Regions from separate parts of the Homo sapiens genome. Here region 2 is linked to region 1. The links are contacts of gene promoters, found by promoter capture Hi-C in human tissues and cell types (Jung and others, 2019). All regions are on one chromosome and are shown on one strand. Each heading gives the region's core, a stretch centred on a gene start or on the middle of the fragment in contact. The rest is flanking DNA. Distances are from core to core; before and after follow the strand shown. Region 1 holds the start of CATSPER1 (cation channel sperm associated 1). Region 2 overlaps LOC124902693.

Region 1 (3,563 bases), core at 1,064-3,563:
CAAGTTCCCAAGCAGCTGGGACTACAGGCGCACACCACCACATCCAGCTAATTTTTTGTATTTTAGTAGAGACAGGGTTTCACCATGTTGCCCAGGCTGGTCTCAAACTCCTGAGCTCAGGCGATCCACCCGCCTTGGCCTCCCAAAGTGCTGGGATTACAGGTGTGAGCCACCATGCCCAGCCCACACAAATTGTTTCTTTGTCTGCTGCTGGCAACAGATAGTGAGCTCCTTAAAACAGGAGCCGTGTCTCTTTCATCACTGGGAACCCAGCAGCCACTATGGACATGGCTCTGACCAAGCACTCAAGAAGCTGAGACCCATAAGCTTCCAGAAGAGCTGCGCTGTGCACATATGAATTCAGCATACAGGGCAAGCTCTGCAGTGGATTCCAGGAGGAAGACAGGACAGCATGAAGGTTACAGATACAGACTTGGAGTGAGATAGCACTGACGGTAAGTTTTCATTCATCAAGCAACTCATTTATATTCTCTGAGCCATAGCACCTTTGTCTGTCAAATGGGGATAAACAATATCTACCATGTGGGGCTATTGTGAGGATTAAATTTAATGTGTATGGGCCGGGCACGGTGGCGCATGCCTGTAATCCCAGCACTTTGGGTTGTCGAGGCGGGCAGATCGTTTGAGATCAGGAGTTCGAGACCAGCCTGACCAACAGGGTGAAACCCCATCTCTACTAAAATACAAAAGAAGTTAGCTGGGCGTAGTGGTGCACGCCTGTACTTTCAGCTACTTGGGAGACTGAGGCAGGAGAATTGCTTGAATTCAGGAGGTGGAGGTTGCTGTGAGCTGAGACCATGCCACTGCACTCCACCCTAGGTGACAGAGCAAGACTGTGTCTCAAAAAAAAAAAAAGAAAGAAAGAAAACAAAATGTGTATGAAGCAATCCTCAATAAATGATGGCTGATAGTTTAATTTTGGTAATAACCCTAAAGGGGGGTTCCAAGATCAAGAAGAGAATAATAATGCCAATTAACATGTATTGGCCAGGCATGGTGGCTCACACCTGAAATCCCAGCACTTAGGGAGTGCGAGGTGGGTGGATCATTTGAGGTCAGGAGTTCAAGAGCAGCCTCGTCAACATGGTGAAACCCCGTCTCTACTAAAAATACAAAAATTAGCTGGGTGTGGTGTGCACCTGTAGTCGCAGCTACTAGGAAAGCTGAGGCAGGAGAATTGCCTGAACCCAGGAGGCAGAGATTGCAGTGAGCCAAGATTGCACCCCGGCACTCCAGCCTAGTGACAGAGTAAGACTCTGTCTCAAAAAAAAAAAAAAAAAAATTAGCCGGGGTGGGGTATGGTGGTGGGTGGCTGTAATCCCAGCTACTCAGGGGGCTAAGGCAGGAGGCTCACTTGAACCTGGGAGGCAGAGATTGCCATGAGTGGAGATCATGCCGCTGCACTCCAGCCTGGGTGACAGTGAGACTGTCTCAAAAAACAAAAACAAAAACAAAAAAACATGGGCTGGGCGCAGTGGCTCACACCTGTAATCCCAACACTTTGGAAGGGCAAGGCAGGCGGATCACGAGGTCAGGAGATCAAGACCATTCTGGCTAACATGGTGAAACCCCGTCTCTACTAAAAATAGAAAAAGTTAGCCGGGCGTGGTGGTGGGCGCCTGTAGTCCCAGCTACTTGGGAGGCTGAGGCAGGAAAATGGCATGAAGCTGGGAGGTGGAGGTTGCAGTGAGTCAAGATCGTGCCACTGCACTCCAGCCTGGGCGACAGAGCGAGACTCCATCTCAAAAACAAACAAAGAAACAAACAACAACAACAACAACAAAAACCATGTATTATGCTGTTAATATAAGGCTTACATATCTTAACTTTTTTGATCCTGTGGGCTAGGTATTATTATTCCCATTTTACAGAGGAAGAAACTGAGGCACGGGAAAGTTCAGCAACAAGCCCAAGGTCACACACCTACTTATGAGGGAGTCAGGCAGTCTTCACCCCAGAGCCAGCTGATCTCTAGATGGGACTGAAGACTGGACCACTTGGACCATTTTCTTTCCAACAACAGGGCTAAAGTAGCTGATGAAGCCATGGCGCCCCCATGGACTTCTTTGTCCAGCTTTGCCAGTGACCTGTGAGGTCACCTTGGTCTAGTCCTTCCCTTTTCTTGACCTCGGTTTCCTCATTTACAATGAAGGAGTTTGACACAATAATTCTTGATTCCGAACTATAGCCCAGGAAGAGGCATTTGGGAATGAGGCCCTGGCCTGCTGGTGACATCATAGAGGGGAGAGTTCCACGAGAATAGTCAGGCCTTTCTGGAAGCCCAGTGCCACAGTCTGCATTGAGCTTGGCTCAGGAAAGAAGGGAAATCCAGGCGGGGCCTGTTGGGCCCAGGTCTTGAGCTCTTTTGGCTCCAGAGTTCCCAGCACAGTCATGGATCAAAACTCAGTGCCTGAAAAGGCTCAGAATGAGGCAGACACCAATAACGCAGATAGGTTCTTTCGCTCTCACTCATCACCCCCACACCACAGGCCAGGCCACAGCAGAGCTCTCCACCATTACGAGTTGCACCATCACGGCGTGCCCCACCAACGTGGTGAATCTCACCACCCTCCGGAGTTCCAAGACTTCCACGACCAAGCCTTGTCCTCCCATGTCCACCAATCTCACCACCACAGCGAGGCACGGAATCACGGCAGAGCCCATGGCCCCACAGGCTTTGGTCTGGCTCCCTCTCAAGGCGCCGTCCCCTCCCACCGTTCCTACGGTGAGGACTACCATGATGAGCTCCAACGTGATGGCAGGAGGCATCATGATGGGTCCCAATACGGTGGGTTCCATCAGCAGAGTGACTCCCATTACCATAGGGGGTCTCACCATGGCAGACCCCAATATCTCGGTGAGAATTTATCCCACTATTCCTCTGGCGTGCCCCACCACGGTGAGGCTTCCCACCATGGTGGGTCCTACCTCCCCCATGGACCCAATCCCTACAGTGAGTCCTTCCACCACAGCGAGGCTTCCCACCTTAGCGGGCTCCAACACGATGAGTCCCAGCATCACCAAGTCCCCCACCGTGGCTGGCCCCACCATCACCAAGTCCACCACCATGGCAGGTCCCGTCATCATGAAGCCCACCAGCATGGAAAGTCTCCTCATCACGGAGAGACCATTTCCCCTCATTCCTCTGTGGGGTCCTACCAGCGTGGGATATCTGACTATCACAGCGAGTACCACCAAGGTGATCACCACCCCAGTGAGTACCACCATGGCGACCATCCCCACCACACACAGCACCACTACCACCAGACCCACCGGCACCGAGACTACCATCAGCACCAAGACCACCACGGCGCGTATCATTCCAGTTACCTCCATGGCGACTACGTCCAGAGCACTTCCCAACTCTCTATCCCACACACATCCCGGAGCCTGATTCACGATGCCCCCGGCCCTGCTGCTTCTCGTACAGGAGTCTTCCCCTATCACGTAGCACACCCACGGGGCTCGGCTCACAGCATGACTCGGTCCTCCAGCACAATCCGCTCACGTGTCACCCAGATGTCCAAAAAAGTCCATACCCA
Region 2 (3,539 bases), core at 657-3,156, 220 kb after region 1:
GAGAATGACCAGACCCCGAGGCCACAGTAGGACAAAGAAGAAGACTGACCCAGTTCTCTGTTTCCTGCTGCCATGCCCGGGCCTCTGCTGCCAGAAGTCTTCCCCATGAAGCCATAGGTGGGGGACTAAAAGGCATATTCCTGTGGGGTGACCCCGAGAGAGACTGGGCATGGTTTCCACCGAGGCACTGTTGGGGGCAGAGAATTCTTTGGTTGCCGGAGAGGACCACCTGGTGCAGACCAGACCTGCAGCTGCGGCTTCAGGGTAGGAGCATGGCCGCCTTGGTGTCGCCATCTGGCCAGTCCTTGTTCCTACAGTTCCACTCCCAGCCGTGTCCTCAGCTTGTACCCACTTGTTTTTTTCCTTCATGGAAGCTAAGGAGGGGACTGGGTTTGTTTGTCCAGATGCCACCAGTTGGATGACCGTTGCGGGTACAGGAGTGTCTTCACCACGCAGTGCCAGGCCAGGTCCCACCTCACATCTCTATTCCTCATCTGGGAATGCTGGCATCAGCAGGTTGATTCAAAACTAGGAGGTGTTGGGAAACCCCTTGGGCTGGAGATTTCGAACTGAGATTCAGATGAGAAAAAACATAGTGGGTGGGGTTCTGAGGCAGGAAGGAGACAGCAAAAGCTCCTGTCCTGACGCTCCGCTCGATAGCGGGGATCAACAGAGCGGCCTGGCATGGTTGGGGGCAGCTGCGCTGGCTGAACCCAGGTGCAAGGCTGGCCCTGGACGGCCTCTCCCACCTCTGGACACAGAGCCGCCCCGTGCCTCTCCATTCACCAGGCAAAACCACACCTGGAGTGGCGCGTTCAGTCTGGGGCATGTTGGCACCAGCAGGTGTGGATAAATCCAAGGGCTCCTTCGGAGGGAGGGCAGGGGAGGAGGGCTGGCAGGAGTATGGGGAGAAAAGCTGTTTGAAAAGATTGTAAAAGGCTGTGGGAGAATTCAGAGAGGGGGCGAGTGATGAAGGGAGGACCACGCAGCTCAGGAGCCACAGCCTGGGTGGCCTGGGCGGCAAGGGCAGCCCCCATTCTGCTGTTGAGTGGCTGTCTTGCCGTCTGCACTCCCTCGTCATACAGTCCTCCCTGTGCGTTAGCTCAGGACAGCCTGGCATCGGTGGCTCCTGGTGGCAGGTGCCTGTGACATGAAGAGCACAGAGGAAGACGCTGGCTAGATCCAGAGGCAGAGAGAGGAGGACATGAGGAGAAGGTGAGGGAAACTGAGGAACAAGGAGAGGAAGAGCAATTAAAATGATTCCTTGAAAGAAAAGGAGGTAAAACAGAAAACGTGGCGAGGGGTATCCTAGAAGGAGCAGAAAAGGAAGGAAAAAAAGGGTGAACATTGTCTTTCATTTGAAGGACTTGGAGTGGCACAGTCAAGAACGAGTCTCCAAACACAGTCAGTACTCAGAAAGCTCATCATTGGATTTGTAAATCCATTTCATCTGGGTGGACTGAAGAACGTGGTACCCTCTGAGGATGTCAGGGCCCATATTGTGGGAAAGTCAAGAGTGGCGCCGCAACAAACTAGCTAATCAGTTATGAACACGAGGGGCTCATGATTCATGAGCCTGCCCATCTATCTCGTGCAGGGTGGAGACCCATCTAACCGGAACCACCACCCAGCCTCTCCCAGCCTCCTTAGATGACAAGCTCTGGCATCCTCGGTCCACCCAACTCAGCCCCCAAGCATTTCGCCAAAACATCAGTAAGCAGGTATAGGTGAAGGAGGTCACAGGTGTCTCCATTTTGTGCCGTTTTCTCTCCTTCCCAGTGCTCAGCACACGACTAACCAGGGGTTCTCATCAGGGGCCGTATATTCACTCCTGAAAGGGTAGTCAGCAGGTCACCAAACACCTTCCTCTGAACTCAGAATAAGTTTATTTTTACTTAATTTTTTAAATTAAAATAAATTTTTTTAGGCCGGGTGCAGTGGCTCACGCCTGTAATCCCAGCACTTTGAGAGGCTGAGGTGGGCGGATCACAAGGTCAGGAGTTCAAGACCAGCCTGGCCAATATGGTGAAACCCCATCTCTAAAAAATACAAAAAAAATTACCCGGGCGTGGTTGCGCATGCCTGTAATCCCAGCTACTCGGGAGGCTGAGGCAGGAGAGTTGCTTGAACCTGGGAGGCAGAGGTTGCAGTGAACCGAGATCCTGCCACTGCACTCCAGCCTGGGCAACAGTGTAGGACTCTCTCACAAAAAAAAAAAAAAAAAAAAAAAAAAAAAATTCTGGGACAGAGTCTCGTTCTGTTCACACAGGCTGGAATGCTGTGGTGTCATCATAGCTCACTATAACCTCAAACTCCTGGGCTCGAGTGATCCTCCCACCTCAGCCTCCCAAGTAGCTGGGACTATAGGCCCTGCCACTGTATCTGGCTAATTTTTAAATATTTTGCAGAAACGGGATCTCACAATGTTGGTCTGAAACTCCTGAGCTCATGTGATCCTCCTGCCTCAGCCTCCCGAGTTGCTGGGATTACAGGCATGAGCCGCCGTGCCCAGCTAGTTTATTTTTATATTCTGTATTACTGTGGACCGGAAAATCCAAGAGTTTGCCTGTACCCTATGGGAAAATTGTCTCTCAGCTGCAACGTGCCCAGCGTTCTCAGCAGTCAGGGCAAATTCAACTACAGCAGCCACCGCCCATCTTACCGAAGCTAAACCAGACATGGATGTTATTATCTGCTGCATCCAGCATTTGTTTAGAGCTTTCTGCTTCACAAAGCAACTCATTATCTTAATCTTCACCATCATCCTACATTGCTCTTACTTCCACTTTATGAACAGTCAGTCTCAGAAAGCTAAGGCATCTTCCTCAAAGCAGCTGTAGGATTCAAACTGTGTGTCCGGGGACTCCAGATTCTTTGTGCTTTCTACACATTTAGATTTCATGGTAACATCAAAAATCAGGATTCCTGGATCTGGAGCAGTTTATTCCCTCGGCCTTCCTCCCACCCATTGCCATCCCAGCCCATTTCTATAACCATCAAATGGGCAATGTTTTTTTTTTTTTTTTTTTTTTGAGACATGGTCTCACTCTGTCACCCAGGCTGGAGGGCGGTGGCGCAATCTCGGCTCACTGCAACCTCTGCCTCCCAGGTTCAAGCGATTCTCCTGCCTCAGCCTCCTGAGTAGCTGGGATTACAGGCGCCCGCCAGCAAGCCCTGCTAATTTTTTTGTATTTTTAGTAGAGATGGGGTTTCGCCATGTTGGCCAGGCTGGTCTCAAACTCCTGACCTCAAGTGATCCACCCGCTTCGGCCTCCCAAAGTGCTGGGATTACAGGCGTGAGCCACCGCGGCCGGCCTAAATTGGCAAGAATTTTCACTGTTCAATGAAGAACATCCTTTTGCAGCCAATTATTCCAACATTGCCTTCCTGAAGGACTCTTTCAAAATCATCAAGAAGATTTCACTACAAAAGCAATATGGGAATATTGTAGAAAAAAGTACGAAATATAGAAAAAAGAAAATAAAAGTCATAATTCTGCCATTGAACAAGAATTTAAGATTTTTACTTCCATGATTTTT

The links. The method cuts DNA at HindIII sites, captures the fragments that hold promoters and counts their contacts. A contact is called where the count stands out against the background at its distance.
Region 2: a contact is called between a fragment that was not itself captured here and the fragment with the promoter of CATSPER1 in region 1, in 1 of the 25 tissues and cell types used here (spleen).

The regions. Positions count from the first base shown.
Region 1 is chr11:66,025,229-66,028,791 of GRCh38, reverse strand. CATSPER1 (cation channel sperm associated 1) reads left to right here and starts at 2,313. Exons shown (of 12, transcript NM_053054.4): 1 at 2,313-3,563. The coding sequence starts at 2,413. The HindIII fragment of the contact is 11,043 bases long and covers 1-3,563 here.
Region 2 is chr11:65,806,383-65,809,921 of GRCh38, reverse strand. All of the region lies in intron 3 of LOC124902693, which reads left to right. Among named protein-coding and RNA genes, the nearest start is that of OVOL1-AS1, 17 kb to the right of the region's middle. The HindIII fragment of the contact is 6,595 bases long and covers 1-3,539 here.